3 separate regions of the Homo sapiens genome follow, and regions 2 and 3 are each linked to region 1. The links are contacts of gene promoters, found by promoter capture Hi-C in blood cells and fetal thymus (Javierre and others, 2016). All regions are on one chromosome and are shown on one strand. Each heading gives the region's core, a stretch centred on a gene start or on the middle of the fragment in contact. The rest is flanking DNA. Distances are from core to core; before and after follow the strand shown. Region 1 holds the start of UGGT1 (UDP-glucose glycoprotein glucosyltransferase 1). Region 2 overlaps RNASEH1 (ribonuclease H1). Region 3 overlaps SLC30A6 (solute carrier family 30 member 6).

Evidence for each region. Contacts are between HindIII fragments. The CHiCAGO score rates a contact against its expected background, and 5 or more counts as called.
Region 2: a fragment that was not itself captured here is called in contact with the fragment with the promoter of UGGT1 in region 1 in 1 of 17 cell types (naive CD4 T cells); the score reaches 5.9 in naive CD4 T cells.
Region 3: a contact is called between a fragment that was not itself captured here and the fragment with the promoter of UGGT1 in region 1, in 1 of 17 cell types (non-activated CD4 T cells). The highest score is 6.4, in non-activated CD4 T cells.

The regions. Positions count from the first base shown.
Region 1 is chr2:128,089,143-128,094,047 of GRCh38, reverse strand. It overlaps UGGT1 (UDP-glucose glycoprotein glucosyltransferase 1), which reads right to left and starts at 2,848. Exons shown (of 41, transcript NM_020120.4): 1 at 2,633-2,848. The coding sequence starts at 2,690. RefSeq lists an enhancer at 2,777-3,086. The HindIII fragment of the contact is 755 bases long and covers 2,326-3,080 here.
Region 2 is chr2:3,540,675-3,545,579 of GRCh38, reverse strand. RNASEH1 (ribonuclease H1) reads left to right here. Exons shown (of 8, transcript NM_002936.6): 8 at 1-4,150. Among named protein-coding and RNA genes, the nearest start is that of RNASEH1, 15 kb to the left of the region's middle. The HindIII fragment of the contact is 6,001 bases long and covers 1-4,905 here.
Region 3 is chr2:32,166,705-32,171,609 of GRCh38, reverse strand. SLC30A6 (solute carrier family 30 member 6) reads right to left here. Exons shown (of 14, transcript NM_017964.5): 2 at 237-323. Among named protein-coding and RNA genes, the nearest start is that of SLC30A6, 3.3 kb to the right of the region's middle. RefSeq lists an enhancer at 3,910-4,426. The HindIII fragment of the contact is 4,514 bases long and covers 45-4,558 here.

The DNA of each region.
Region 1 (4,905 bases), core at 1,599-4,098:
GGGTATGACAAAGTCCCCTGAGGAAACCCCAGCATTTAACAAGCAATGACTCTGAGCTAAACATTGTATTAGGTGCTTTACATACACAGTGTTATCTAATCCTTACATACAACAACCCAGGGCACTAACGTTCTCTGAGGGGAGCAACCATGTCTACTTCGTTTACCAAAGTGCACAGCATGATGCCTGGCACTCAGAAGACAGTCCATGAATATGCTGCATGCATCTCCACTTTAAAAATAAGTGAAAGCTCGAAGATGCTGAGTACCTTGCCTAACTAATAAATAGCAGTGCTTAGAACCCACACCTTCCTGCTTTTAAAGTTCTACAATACCGTGCTCTCTTCTCTGGTTCTCTGGCTTTACAAAAGGGTAAAAAGCCATACTCTGTGCAGACTCAGACTGAGAAAAGTGCTTGTGAGAACCAAGGCAAGTCCAAGGATTTTCAGTGGCCACAGTTCTTGGGAGACAGGTGGCTGAGAAAGGAATAGTTTTAACCTGAAACCAAGGGAGGAGGCCTGAAGCTGGGACCGAAGCAATCCAACCAACCAATCTGACAGATCCACACTTACGCTGGCTTTGGGGACCGATGGGAGCTCCTCAAGAGCAGGGTGTTTTGTCTATCATGGTCTCCACGCCTAGCATTATGCCTGAAACATAGAAGGCTCTCAAAATGAAATAAACACAGGCCTCATTCATTAAGGCATGAATGGAAACAACAGGAAAGGAGTGTGGCACCAAGAGTGAAGATGCTATAAAATGCCTAGGACTGCAAGATAGGTAAAATGAAAATCCTATGAACCTGTGGCCTGCCTCGAGATCCCCCTACACTGTTTTCAAAAAGGAGAGAGAGTACGTGTTCTTGGGGAGAGATGCAGCACCATTTGAGATGAAAAAAGGAGGAAAGCTATACATTAAAAAAGAGCTTTGCCACTCTGACCCCACATTCTTAACTCTACAGGTAAAACCAGAGGAAAAGACTGTCCAGAGAAGCAGACGTAAGAATCTCACTGAAGTGGTCTCTGCTTTGAGTATGTCTTCATTTTATAGGATCCCTTATCATTCTGACCCTAGGGGTTCTTAAATGTTGCTTATAAAGACAAACAGTCTGAGATAATGGCCAACAGAATGTGCCATGTGGCTTTGCATGATAAGCATTATACTTGCGGCATGATGAATAAACAGAAAACACTCTTTAACAAGTTCTAGGCCCAACTATCAACAACCATCCGTAGGAGGCTGAGGTAGGAGGACCACCTGAGCCCAGGAGGTGGAGGCTGCAGCTAGCAAGATCATGTCACTATTCTCTAACCTGGGCAACAGAGCAAGACTCTGCCTCACCAACAAAAAATAAAAAAATAAATTAAAACACTATCTCTTGCACCATTGCACTCCAGCCTGGGTAACAAGAGTGAAACTCCATCTCAAAAAAAAAAAAAAAAAGAAAGAAAGAAAGAAAATTATCACATCATCTTGTATTGTTACAGGGAAACTTAGATAAAAAAAGAAAATGCTCACAGACAGCTGCAGGAAAGTTCTAAGCAAATTTTCTTCTTACTTTCATATATTCCCCTGAAGTTCAATGTGCATTATAAATGTGCTATGCTACTGTACAAAGTATTATGGTCACTTCCTTTAATAAGTTTCATGTGGCCAGGAGTTCAAGATCAGACTGGTAGGTAACAAGACCTCATCTCTACAAAATAAATAAATAAATAAATAAATAAGAATTTTTTTAAAATAAGCTTCAGCTAAGTTTATCAAAAGCAAGTCAAGTGTTGCTAAATTCGACTGGCTTAAAAAAAAAAAAAGCAAAGTGAAAAGGCTACAATTATTCCAAGTTTTGTGGTGCTGTTAAATAGCTATTTAAAATGTCTTCAAACGCCTGCAAGTGTAAGATTCTTGAAGGAAAGAGGGCACTTTACACTAAAATTGGCTGGCAAGTACATCAATGAATGTTTCCAAAACAGTTAGTGTAGCACAATAAGGCAAAAGACCCCAGGACTTCAAACGAACAAAATTGCTCCTTCTCAAATCTGGCAAGAAATGCAAAACAACTGCAGATTCTGGCCAAGGAACAAAAACAGTTCACATCTATAAGTTATTGGCGACGGACGCAGATCTCATTCTGGCAGGTCCCACGCTAAAAGTGAAACCATATCATCCAATTTCCAGCCAACAGATCACAGTGTTAAAAGAAAACAGTAACCAATACGCATCAACCCGAATTCATTTTAGGAAAAATTGAAATCTATTTTAAAAAGCACGTCGTTCTGCAATCAGGGTCCTGCAAAGTGCTGCTTCTCAACTCACTGAGGATCAAGCTTGGTCTAAATCCATGGTAGGATACCTCCCCCATTTCCTTCTGCACTTGGCACAAGGATCTAAAGCTCTTCAAAGAAGGTTCAAGACCGCTGAACAGAGCCCGCCGCCACCCCCGCGGAAGCGATACCTTGCCAAGAAGACCACTGAGGGCAACTCGGGGCGCTCGCGAATAGGGGAAGGGATAGGACACCAGAGGGTAAACTGAGTCACGGTAGAGGCGGAAGCTCAATGTGACAGGGGCACAGGGTCGCCTTGTGCCCCAAACCCTCTCTTTGTCCACGAGGCCTCCTCACGCCACCCCTGGGTACCTGTCACCGGCAGCGCACCCGCGGCACACGCACCGCTCGCGTCTCCCTTGCAGCCCATGCCCGGGCCGTGGTCAGTCCGCCACAGTGCCAGAGACAACGCCAGGGCAGGGCGGGGCGAGGCGGCAGCGGCAGTGCAGGCTGCGCCAGTGAGAGGCCGACACGCGCCTTTCCCGCGGCTCGACTCAACACCCAGCCTCGCAAAGCAATTGCCCAGCTGCCGGCCGCCCTTTTACTTCCGCTTCCTGCAGGCGAACGCTGGAGGACTTCCGGATACCGAGTCGAGACCTAGCAGCCCAGAGCGTCGCGCGGTCGCCCTCTCATCTCCGAGGGTTGGGGAGGGGGGAGTCCTGCCTCTCTCCTCACTTCCGCCTTTCAGGGTGGCGGGTAGGCTGCCGGTCTTCAAGGTCTTGGGAAGGTTCGTTGGGCCAACAGCTGAGACCCGAAAGCTTCAACAGTCAGTCGGTGAAATCCAGTTTGGACTCTGGGACTTACTCCCTTAAACCTTTGTTAAAAGCTTACTCCCTTTAGCCTTTCGGTGGCACAGTAAGGACAATTGTCTTAATGTTTCTGAGCATCTTAGACTTTATACTAAACCCTAAAATTTTGATAGCTACCTTCCAGGAGGCATGATGAAAGGAAGACTTTTTAAATTTTATGAGCCGCTTGAGCTTTCTTATTCGGACAGCGGCAGCTTAGTCTACAGGGACTACTTTGTCCTTTTAGTATTTTTTTTTTAACTAATATAAACCAGTTTAAAATTGTTTTGGAATAGGTAGCATTTAACCCACCCAAAAATGAATACCTCTTTGGAGGGTATATTTTTAAGTATATTAAGTCAAAGTGAATGAAAAGCCAAAAATATTTTTTTGGAGTTGGAGTCTCGCTCTGTCTCCCAGGCTGGAATGCAGTGGCGCGATCTCGGCTCACTGCAACCTCCGCGCCCCCGCCCGCGCCCCCCACCCCCCAACCCCCCGACCCGCATTCAAGCGATTCTCCCACCTCAGCCTCCCCAGTAGCTGGGATTACAGGCGTGCGCCACCGCGCCTGGCTAATTTTTGTATTTTTAGTAGAGACAGGGTTTCACCCTGTTGGCCAGGCTGGTCTCGAACTGCTGACCTCAGATGATCCACCCGCCTCGGCCTCCCAAGTGCTGGGATTACAGGCGTGACCCACTGCGCCCGGCCCAAAATAATTTTAATAAATAAACATGAGCCAACATGATGAAGGGGAGGAAGGAGAGGAGGATGAAGGAGATGACTAATGGAACACTGATGGAGGCCGGGCGCGGTGGCTCACGCTGAGGATGGAGGCTGAGGCAGGAGAATGGCGTGAACCCGGGAGGCGGAGGTTGCTTGCAGTGAGCAGAGATCGCATCACTGCACTCCAGCCTGGGCGAGAGAGGGAGACTCCATCTCAAAAAAAAAAAAAACAGCAACAACAACAGCAAAAAAACACTGATGGATTCCAACCTTCCTTTTTTTACATTTTCTCCAGTCCCTGGGAGCAAGTTGCAGTTTTTTTGTTTTTTTGTTTTTTGTTTTTTCTCTCTTGTGCTCAGTCGCCCTGTTCTTGAGGTTTCTTTTCTCTACACTATAGTTCTCAACTTATTTTGGGGGAAATAACTTCAGCAGAATACAATGGGAAAAGAGTCTCTACCCCTTTCTGTTCGAAATTCATTTTTATCCCTTCCTGTCTGAGCAAAAACTGTATAGAATCAACATCACCCCAGCTCTGTGGGAAAAAAGAAAAACCTGCTCCCTTCGCCCTGCTGGAAGCTGGAGGGCTCTAGGCCCATGTGTAGCAGAGCATTCAATTCTAGCTTTCTTCCTGCTTTCTCTGTATATTGGGCTCGGAGAGTACACTGGGTCTCTATGTGAATATGGACAGTTAGCATTTACCAACATCTTTCTGTCTACTTTCTCTTGTTTAAAAAAAGAAAAAAACTTTAAAAAATGGGATTCTAGAAGTCAGCAAAGGGTGGGTCTGAGATGTTTGGGTGGGTTAAGCGGACATTTTGACAACATGGCTTCTCCTTTGGCATGTTTAATTGCGATGTTTGACACACATCCTTGCAGTTTAAGATGACGCTTTTAAAATAAATTCTCTCCTAATGATGACTTGAGCCCTGCCACTCAGTGGGAGAATCAGCAGAACCTCTAGGATCTTATTTGGAATTGACATTCTCTATTGTAATTTTGTTCCTGTTTATTTTTAAATTTTGTTTCACTGGAAAGGAAAGATCATGCTCAGTTTTAAATGTTAAAAGTGTACAA
Region 2 (4,905 bases), core at 1,183-3,682, about 120 Mb after region 1:
GGAGAATTATGTGAGATTTCCACATTATGTTTACTGGGTTCAATACTGTCCTTGCTTGTTTTATTGCAGGCAAGCAAGGCAAATGGCCTAAAATGCTGTGGCTTATATTTTGATAAGAAATCAAAAAACCATTGGTTAAAAGATGCAACTCAGAAGTCTGGAAGTATTCTGAAAGCATCCATTTACCGTCCAGTTGACAGGTTTGAGTCTCCTGCTTGTATAGGTGACTTGTGCCCATGGGTACATTAAAGGAACATGCTGCCCAGGGCCTGGGCGGACAGCTCAGTGGGCAGGATGTGTGCTGGGTCTCAGCCCCATGTGCCTGCTTGCTGGGCAGTTAGTATAGGGCAAAGCCTGCCTGCGGCGACCCTGGCTGCTAGGCCATTCTCTAGGAACAGCTGCGACTCATAAAGACCAAGAAGCATAAATAAACTTTCAAAAATTTATTTGGCTCTTTCGTTAAAAACTGTGCAAATTAAAAAAAAAAAAAAAAAAGTAAGACACCGGCTGGGCACAGTGGCTCACTTCTGTAATCCTAGCACTTTGGGAGGCCAAGGCGGGCAGATCACTTGAGGTCAGGAGTTTGAGACCAGCTTGGCCAACATGACGAAACCCTGTCTCTACTAAAATTACAAAAATTATCCAGGTGTGGTGGCACGGGCTTGTAGTCCCAGCTACTTGGGAGGCTGAGGCACAAGAATCACTTGAACCCAGGCGGCAGAGGTTGCAGTGAGCCAAGATTGCACCACTGCACTCCATCCTGGGCAACAGAGTGAGACTCTGTCTCAAAAAAAAAAAAAAGTAGTAAAAGTTTGACATGATTATTTATTTAGTTTTAAACCTTTTTATTATAAAAACATACAGGAAGTGACACAAAACAAATGTATAGCTTATTGAATGATTATGATTGTAAGGTGAATAACCTTTGTGTCCACCACCTGGTGAAGAAATAGTACTTTGCCAGATACCCCAGGAGGCTCTCCCAAGTGCCCCTCCAGCCACAGCCCTCTTCTTCTCCCCCTCCTTGCCCCAACAAGTAATCCTGACTTTTACAGAAATGACTTTCTTGGTTTTTTGATGGCAGTTTAGTCTTGTCTGCTTTTTTTTGTTTATTTTTTTATCTACTTCAGTGTCCATTTGCAGTCCCGTCGGCCTCACTGTTTTCCCTGCCGTTTATCTGTTGAAGAGCCTGGGCTGTTTGTCCCATGGCTTCCCACAGTGTAGATTTTGCTGACCACGTGGTCATGGTGTAGTTCAGCATGGTCCTCTATGTTTCCTGCACATTGGCAGCTGGGTCCAGAGGCTTGATGAGCCTCAAATTTGATCCCTTTGGCAGGAGAACAGGCGGTTAGGAGCTTTCCTCAGGAAAGTACCATGTTGACGGCAGCTGATGCTCAGTGCCAAGATCCATTAATTATTTGGGGTTGCAAAATGGTGGTATTCTCATTCTGTCGTTTTGCTTGCCTTTATTAGCTGGAATGGTTTTCTAAGAAAGTGTTTTCTTTTTTATACTTATCTGGTTACCCAGTGGTACAGTTCATATAGGAAGGGCAGGATAAATGCTTGATTCTTTGCTCTTGTACACTAAGTTTTTAAGATAATGCATTAGTTGTCTGTCAAGGAAGGTGAGTGGTGAAGGGTTTTTACATATATACAAGAATTCATGGGCTGGGCATGGTGTCTTATGCCTGTAATCCCAGCACTTTGGGAGGCTGAGGCTGGAGGATCACATGAACCCAGGAGTTTGAGACTAGTCTGGGCAACATAGTGACACCCTGTCTCTACAGAAAATTAAAATAAAATCAGGTGGGTGTGGTAGTGCCTGCCTGTTGTCCCAGCTATTCTGGAGGCTGAGATGGGAGGATCGCTTGGGCCCAGGAGGTCGAGGATGCGTGAGCTGTGACCATGCCACCACATTCCAGCCTGGGCGACAGCAAGTCCTTGTCTTAAAAAAAAAAAAGAATTTGTGGAGTTAAGCATACTTGGTGGGTTTCAATCCGTTGTGATTTTTATCTTTATTTAGCTCAGACTAGCTTATTCGGTCAGTGAGAGGGAGCCTCTTCAGCTTGGCTCTTGCTTTCTTTTGATAAGTGTGCACATGTGTGCATACATGTGTGCACAGACCACACGCACAGTCATTGATAGCTCCCTGCAGCCTGGCATGTCAAGATGCTCTAGGCCCAATTTATAGAGCTTCTGCTCCAAACCTGTCTTAAAAGAAAAACTTTAGACAAGTTAGCAGTTTAATTGAGCAGAAAATAGTTTCTTCAGCTGGGTAGCACTCAGGACCAAAAGTGGTTCAGAACGTTCTCCTGTGCGTTGTGTGCAGGCTGTATTTATTTATAGCCACAGGAAGGGAAAGACACATGTACATGGCCAGACTGACTGCAGGTCAGCCTCCACCTCACATAGGCATGTTTTGGGAGCCTTCAGCATGTGATTGGTGAGACTCTGCTGCTTGTTACAGAAGTGTACTCTCAAGTCAGGTCCCAGTTTGCTTATACATTAAGTGAGGTTATAAGTCACTATGTACAGAGGCAGTTTTAGGCCAAACTTAATTCCGTTTAACACTTGGAATCCATTATTTTTCCCAGAGTCTCTGGTAGAGATGGTATTTCAGATCCAGTTTAGGATGCTCATTGCTATTGCGTTGGTCATTATTTCTAGATTTTTGGACGGAGCTTTAAAAAAATACAAACATTGCACACACATATTTAAAGGAAGAATATTTTCTGAGCCTATATTGATATTCCCAATACAAATTCAGGGTCCTGGGGCCTTTACATAGCCTCCTCTATATGATGTCTGTGTCTCCTGCACTCGGAATCCTGCTTCTCAAGACACAGGACAATGGCATGGAATATCCATCCCTTAATCACTCACTTGTTTTATTCCTCTTTAGCATTTAGCATTTAAAAAAAATACTAATACCATAGCATTAATTGTGATGATGAAAACAGCACTGTGTCTACGTTGTCAGAAAAATTGCTCCTTTTTACCACCATTGACTCATTTCTGTGTGTTCAGGTCTCATAACCAGTCTATAGTCAGTGTCATCTTGGGGACAGTATTCCTTGAGTTTCTGATGTTGAATTCAGTTTTGCTGGATACGAAATTCTTGGCCCAGATTTTCTTTGAGTATCTTGTTTTATTCTGTTTTCTTCCAGCATAAAGTGATGCATGAAAAGCCTGATGAATCTTGTTTTCTTCCCCTGACAGTCATATGCTGTTTTTCCTTAGATGCCCAAAGGATTTTTTCCTTTTTCTGTCAAGTCGGCCGTTTTATTCGAATGTGTCATGTGTTGGTATTGGTTGTCCTGGTCCATATTTGCAAGCGTATGGTGTGCTCTTTCTATGTGTACTTCATATCTGTTATTTTAAGAAGATTTGCTTGAACTGGAGTTTAGTGTTACATTTTTCTTGCTTTGGCTTTTTTCTGTGGGGATCCCTGTTATCTGTATGTTGAAATCTAAATTGGCTGTTCTCAGTGTTTGCCACTGTCTCTTGAATCTCTTTTATCTCTTTCTTTGTTTCTTTTTGAGTTTTAAAAGTTGTTATTGTACCACTTTTGTTTTGTTTTGTTATTTAAAATAGGAACAGTGTCTCACTGTGTTGCCCAGGCTGGTCTTAAACTCCTGGCCTCAAGCGATCCTCCTTCCTTGGCCTCCCAAAGTGCTGGGATTACAGGTGTGAGCCACCAAAGCCGGCCCCACCTTGCTTTTTAAAACAGCTCTGTTGAGGTGTAACTGACAGGTAATGAACTGCACATACGTGAAGTGACCGATGCATTTGCCTGTGAAGCTGTCGCCAGAACATGTCCATCACCACCAACAGCAGTTTCACACCCCGGTCTAAACCGTCCCTCGTGTCCTCCATGTTCAGGCAACCACTGGTCTGCTCCCTCTCACTAAAGGTTAATTTATATATTCTAGAATTTTATCTGAGTGGAATCGCAGAGCAAGTACTGTGGGGGGAGGTGCTTCTACTCAGCATAATTATTTTGGCATTCACCCATTTTGTGTACATCAATAATCCACATTTTGTATTGCATGGATATACCACAGTTTATTTATTTACCTGTTGACCGATATTTCGATTATTTCCAATTTCTAAATAAAAATAAAGCAAATAAAGCTGCCGTGAACATTTATATCCTCGTCTTTGTCTTCTGTTTCTCTTGGGTAAATGCCTTGGAATGGAATGCTTGGTCATATGGCAGGTGTGTGCTCTTTTTTTCTTTTTTTTTTTTTGGAGATGGAGCCTCACTCTGTCACCCAGGCTGGAGTGCAGTGGCGTGATCTTGGCTCACTGTAAGCTCTGCCTCCCGGGTTCACACCATTCTCCTGCCTCAGCCTCCCGAGTAGCTGGGACTACAGGTGCCCGCCACTACACCCGGCTAATTTTTTTGTATTTTTAGTAGAGGTGGGGTTTCACTGTGTTAGTCAGGATGGTCTCAATCTCCTGACCTCGTGATCCGCCTGCCTCGGCCTCCCAAAGTGCTGGGATTACAGTGTGAGCCCAGCCAGCTGGTGTGTGCTTTTTAAGAAACTGTGAAACTTTTCCAAGTGTGAACTTTACACTTTACATTCCCTCCAGTCAGGCAGGAGAGTTCCAGTTCACTCCACATCCTTGTCAACACTTGTCACCTCATTCTGTTACAAATGTCCATAAGTTTTTTGGTTTTGCTGTTTAGTAGTTCTGTTTTTAGGTGGGGATTTGAGAAGATTCAAAAAGCATGCTCCTGCTGCTGCCTCTGTCTTCTGAGAATCTGTGATTTAAAAAAAAAAAAATTGAACCAGAATTGGAAATAGATGAAAAGTTGTGCCTTTAGAAACTTTACGGTCTGTGGGATTTTCACAACACAGATGATGTTGGCTGGGCGCAGTGGCTCACGCCTGTAGTCCC
Region 3 (4,905 bases), core at 1,052-3,551, about 96 Mb after region 1:
CTTTAAAACACTTCAGAATTAGAATCAAAACTTTAACAGAAGCTTCCTACCAAAGTAAAACAACTTAACACCAAACAACTGCAATTTTACACTAAAAAAATACTTTTCCAACATAGAAAAATGAAAACAGTGTGGCAGGATCAGGAGTGATTTCTATTGGCCTTAAAAATTATCTTTCTTCAATGTTATAATGTTGTTTGTGCAATAATTAAAATTGGGGTTAAGGAATAACTTACCCTTCGGTCAGCTGCTACAAGTCTAAATTCCCGTAACAACTTGCCAAAAAAGGATCTTTGTGGTTTTCGAAAGAGATGAATTGTCCCCTTTCAAACAAACATATACAAATCAGCATTTAGATATTTAATCATCTTCAGAGTTCCTATGATATGATATAGTGGTTCCTATGATATAAATAACCAATATTTATTAAGTACTCAATATACATCAAGCACTTATTCTAGACACTTTATGTGTATTTATGGATTTAATATTCACAATAAACCTATGTGGTGGAGACAACTTTTAGTAAGTCATCCAAAGTCACAGAGCTAGTAAATGGCTGAGCAGAAATTCAAACCCAGGCTTTTTAGCTCCAGACCACACTCTTTATTTTTAAATGGATAAGGCAACTTGAACTGAAAAAGAAATAGTTTGCCAAATAGCTCTACTGGAAATTTCTACTGAAAATTCACCTAATTAAAGCTATATATGTGGTTGTGCTTGGGGCTCATGCCTGTAATGCCAGCACTTTGGGAGGCCGAGGCAGAGGGATAACTTGAGGCCAGGAGTTTGAGACCAGCCTGGCCAACATGGCAAAACCCTGTCTCTACTAAAAATATAGAAATGAACTGGGTGTGGTGGTGCACACCTGTAATACCAGCTACTCAGGAGGCTGAGGCGTGAGAATCTCTTGAGCCTGGGAGGTGGAGTTTGCAGTGAGTCAAGATTGTGCCACTGCACTCTGGCCTCGGTGACAGAGTGAGACTCTGTCTCAAAAAGAAAGTAAGTTCAGGCAACTATTATAGTAAAACCCCTGAGATTCTCTCTTAGGCATTCAGTCAAAGTATCTGACATCCTGGCTAGTCTCCCTGGCCCCTGCTAGTGTATAGTTAGTTTGGGGATAGTAAAGATAGGGCTCACCAATGAGAGAGGAGACCAAGTGGCAACTAGAGGGGATTAACCACCCAAGTTTAGGAAATCACATGGGAAAGCCTTAGCAGAACAGAGAGTTCAAACACATATGAGAAATTAACTTATGAGAAAAGCAGTATCCAATATCACTGGGAGAAAATATAAGCCAGTCAATAAATGGTATTTTGATCAAGGTAATGTTTCACCCTTACCGTTACTCCTTACTCTGTTGTTATTTTTAAAAATAAAATACAGATTTATAGAGTACTTGACTGAAGAAAGTCTAGATGTATTATTTTATAATCTGGGAGTTGGGGGAAGCCTTTCTTAATAGGGCATAAAACCCAAGAAGCTCTAAAGGAAAAAAATTGATTGATTTTACTATATAATTTCATGGGCGAATGTAATACCCTTAAGGGGGAAAAAAACTTTAAGAAGGTCAAACTGAAAAAAAACTATAATTCACAACAGACAATAGGCCAATTTTCTCTATACACAATGAGCTTCCACAAACTATTTTTAAAAAGATGAATAACCCAGTTTTAAAAGTTACACATTTATAAAGCTGGCCAAATCAGTACCTGCTCATTATTCACATTTGCTTTTGCAACTTTGTATTGTTAATGTGAAATCATGATTTCTCTTGATACTTTAAAAATAAAAATGGTATGCCTCTCCCTATACACAGTCACATCCATCTCTTGAACCTCAGTTCCAGCTGCTTTTGAGGAGGACAGTCTGATTTTAAATATAGGCTACACGGCAAACAGGATATTCACTCTGTCGCAGCCCCATTCTGCGGTGAAGGAGTAGCTGGGACTACAGGTACCCACCACCACGCCCGGCTAATTTTTTTTTACCTTTAGTAGAGACGGGGTTTCACCGTGTTAGCCAGGATGGTCTTGATCTCCTGACCTCGTGATCCGCCCGCCTTGGCCTCCCAAAGTGCTGGGATTACAGGCGTGAGCCACCGCACCCAGCCAATAAATATATCTTTTTCTTGGCTGGCCATGGTGGCTCATGCCTGTAATTCCACCACTTTGGGTGACTGAGTCAGGAGGATCAGTTGAGCCCAGGAGTTCAAGACCAGCCTAGGAAATATACTGAGACCCTGTCTCTACAAAAAAATTGAAAAGAAAAAAATTAGCCAGGCATAGTGGTACATGCCTGTAGTCCCAGCTACTCAGGACACCAAGGTGGAAGGATCGCATGAGCCCGGGAAGTCAAGCAGTGAGCCAGGTTCACACTTTACTCAAGCCTGGGCAACAGAGCGAGACCCCATCTCGAAATAAATAAATAAATACATAAATAAATGTACATATGTATAAATATTATATATATGTGTATGTACATATGTATATATATTCTTTTCTTAAAGAATTATGTGTGAGTTATTTTGGTTCCAAAGATTTAAAAAATTCTCCTTAATACTGTTATTTTGGACATCTTCTGTTTAACCCTAGCCAACTTTAAGTTTCAGGTTAAGAGAATCAACAAGGTTTCTAAGAGGCAGAAAGCCACTTCTGATGCCATCCTGACAATGAAAATAAAACAAAAATCCTAATGTCATATCACTCTTCCCAAAATTATATTGGCTCGCCATTGCTATCAGAATAAACTACAAATTTTACAACCTGAATTTCCAGGTTTTCAATGACTTAGCCTGTTTCTTTCCAGTCTTATCTCTTACTCCAGATAGAAACCCTCAACTTCAGTTAAACTGGTCTACTCTTTTGTCTCATGACCACTCTTGCGTGAAAAGGCCAGATCTGTCTAACCCAAGCTCTTATTCATATAATGACAAACAAGTATTAGATTAAGAGTATTAGAGTGGGGCACAAAGTACTTAGTTTCATGTTTCACTTCTTAAATGAAGTCTTCCTAGATCATTCCAAACTATAGTGTTTTTTATGCCACTTATTTTGCATTAACCAAAGTAAAGCCTTCAACTTGTTACATTGCTTTGTAATTTTAGTAACTTCACTAATGACAAGGGCTATTTTCCTTTATATTTTGTTTTTATATACTTATATTTTTAATATTATATATTTATATTATTTATATTTTCTAAGAAGGCACTGTTTTCACACAGCATGTTAATAAACACAAAACCTTTTTCTCAATATTTTATTTTAAAATATTTATTTTAAAAAATAAACCTTAAATACTGTTTCCCTGCATGACTAATACTGATGTTTCAAGCATAAAGATATAGTGCCATAGGTTTTCAGTGCTTTATAAAACAGACGTTTTATTTGTATTTTTCTTTATATTTTCTAAGAAAGTACTGTTTTCACATAGCATGTTCTTAATAAACGCAAAACCTTTTCTCAATATCCTTTAAAATAAACCTTAAATACTGTTTCCCTGCATGACTAATACTAATGTTTCAAGCATAAAGATATAGTGCCATAAGTTTTCAGTGTCTTATAAAACAGATGTTTATTGAAAACTTCCTCTGGGCCAGGCACGCTACAAAGCTCTGGGAATTAGGGTGAAATACATAGGTCCTGCTCTCAATGAGCTTACAGTCTAGAAAGTGAGAAAGACAAATAAGTACACAACTTTAACATCGTCTGTAAGGATTACAGATGTTACTGGTAAAAAACACAAGAGATTCAAGTTTTACTTTCTTAAATTAGGGCTGTGAGTTAATGAAGGTGTATAATCTGAAAGACCTCTGAATTTTAAGTCTCTTATCCCTTTATCTTCAACTCCCTTCAAATCATCAGTATTATAGGCAAGTTAAGTTTCTATTGTATGTATTCGTTTTGTGCAGCTTTATGTAACAAAACTGGTGTGTGTGTGTGTGTGTTTGTGCATATAAAAGCACAAGGTACCACCAGAGCACAAAGGAGAAGCAACTAAGAGGATACTGGAACATGAGGGAAAGGTTCATGAAAAATAATTAAGGATATATAAGGGTTATTCTGATAAGGACAGCCGATAGAGAACAGAGAACAATTCTGGGGATGGAAGAGCATATGCAAATTAGGTACAAAGGCTCAATTAATACAGCATGATTTGCAAGCTATTCACTGTGGCTGAAATACGGATGTTGCATACATGTATGCATTAAAAAAAAAAAAAAAAAAAGAGTTTGTGGCCTGGCACGGTGGCTCACGCCTGTAATCCCAGCACTTTGGGAGGCAGAGGCGGGAGGATCACCTGAGGTCAGGAGTTCGCGATCAGCCTGACCAACATGGAGAAACCCCGTCTCTACTAAAAATACAAAATTAGCCAGGCGTGGTGGCGCATTCCTGTAATCCCAGCTGCTCGGGAAGGTGAGGCAGGAGAATCGCTTGAACCCGGGAGGCGGAAGTTGTGGTGAGCCGCGATCGCGCCATTGCACTCCAGCCTGGGCAACAAGAGTGGAACTCCGTCTCGAAAACAACAACAAAAAAAGAGGCTGTAAAAGTAAGAAGCTTGATAATGAGTGGCTTTGTATGCCATGCTAAACAGGACTTTATCTTGAGTGCTACAGAAAAAAAAAAAAGGAGAAAATTTGAGTAAGGGAGTGATGTGGTCAAATTTTAGAAATATAACTCTGGCTACAGGCTTCACAATGGTGAATGTTTTGAAGAAGAGCGTAACTGAAGGCTATTTGATCATTAGCCAAAAAGTGTAAACTTTTACCCATTTTCTGTGTGCAAAAGGATTACAGAAAATTTACAAAACATAAAGTGTGTGAATGAGGCATTTTCCCGACCATATCCACTTAAGTAAAAAACTTAGTACAGTGACAAAAGCTTAGGCACAGAAATGTGGTCTCTT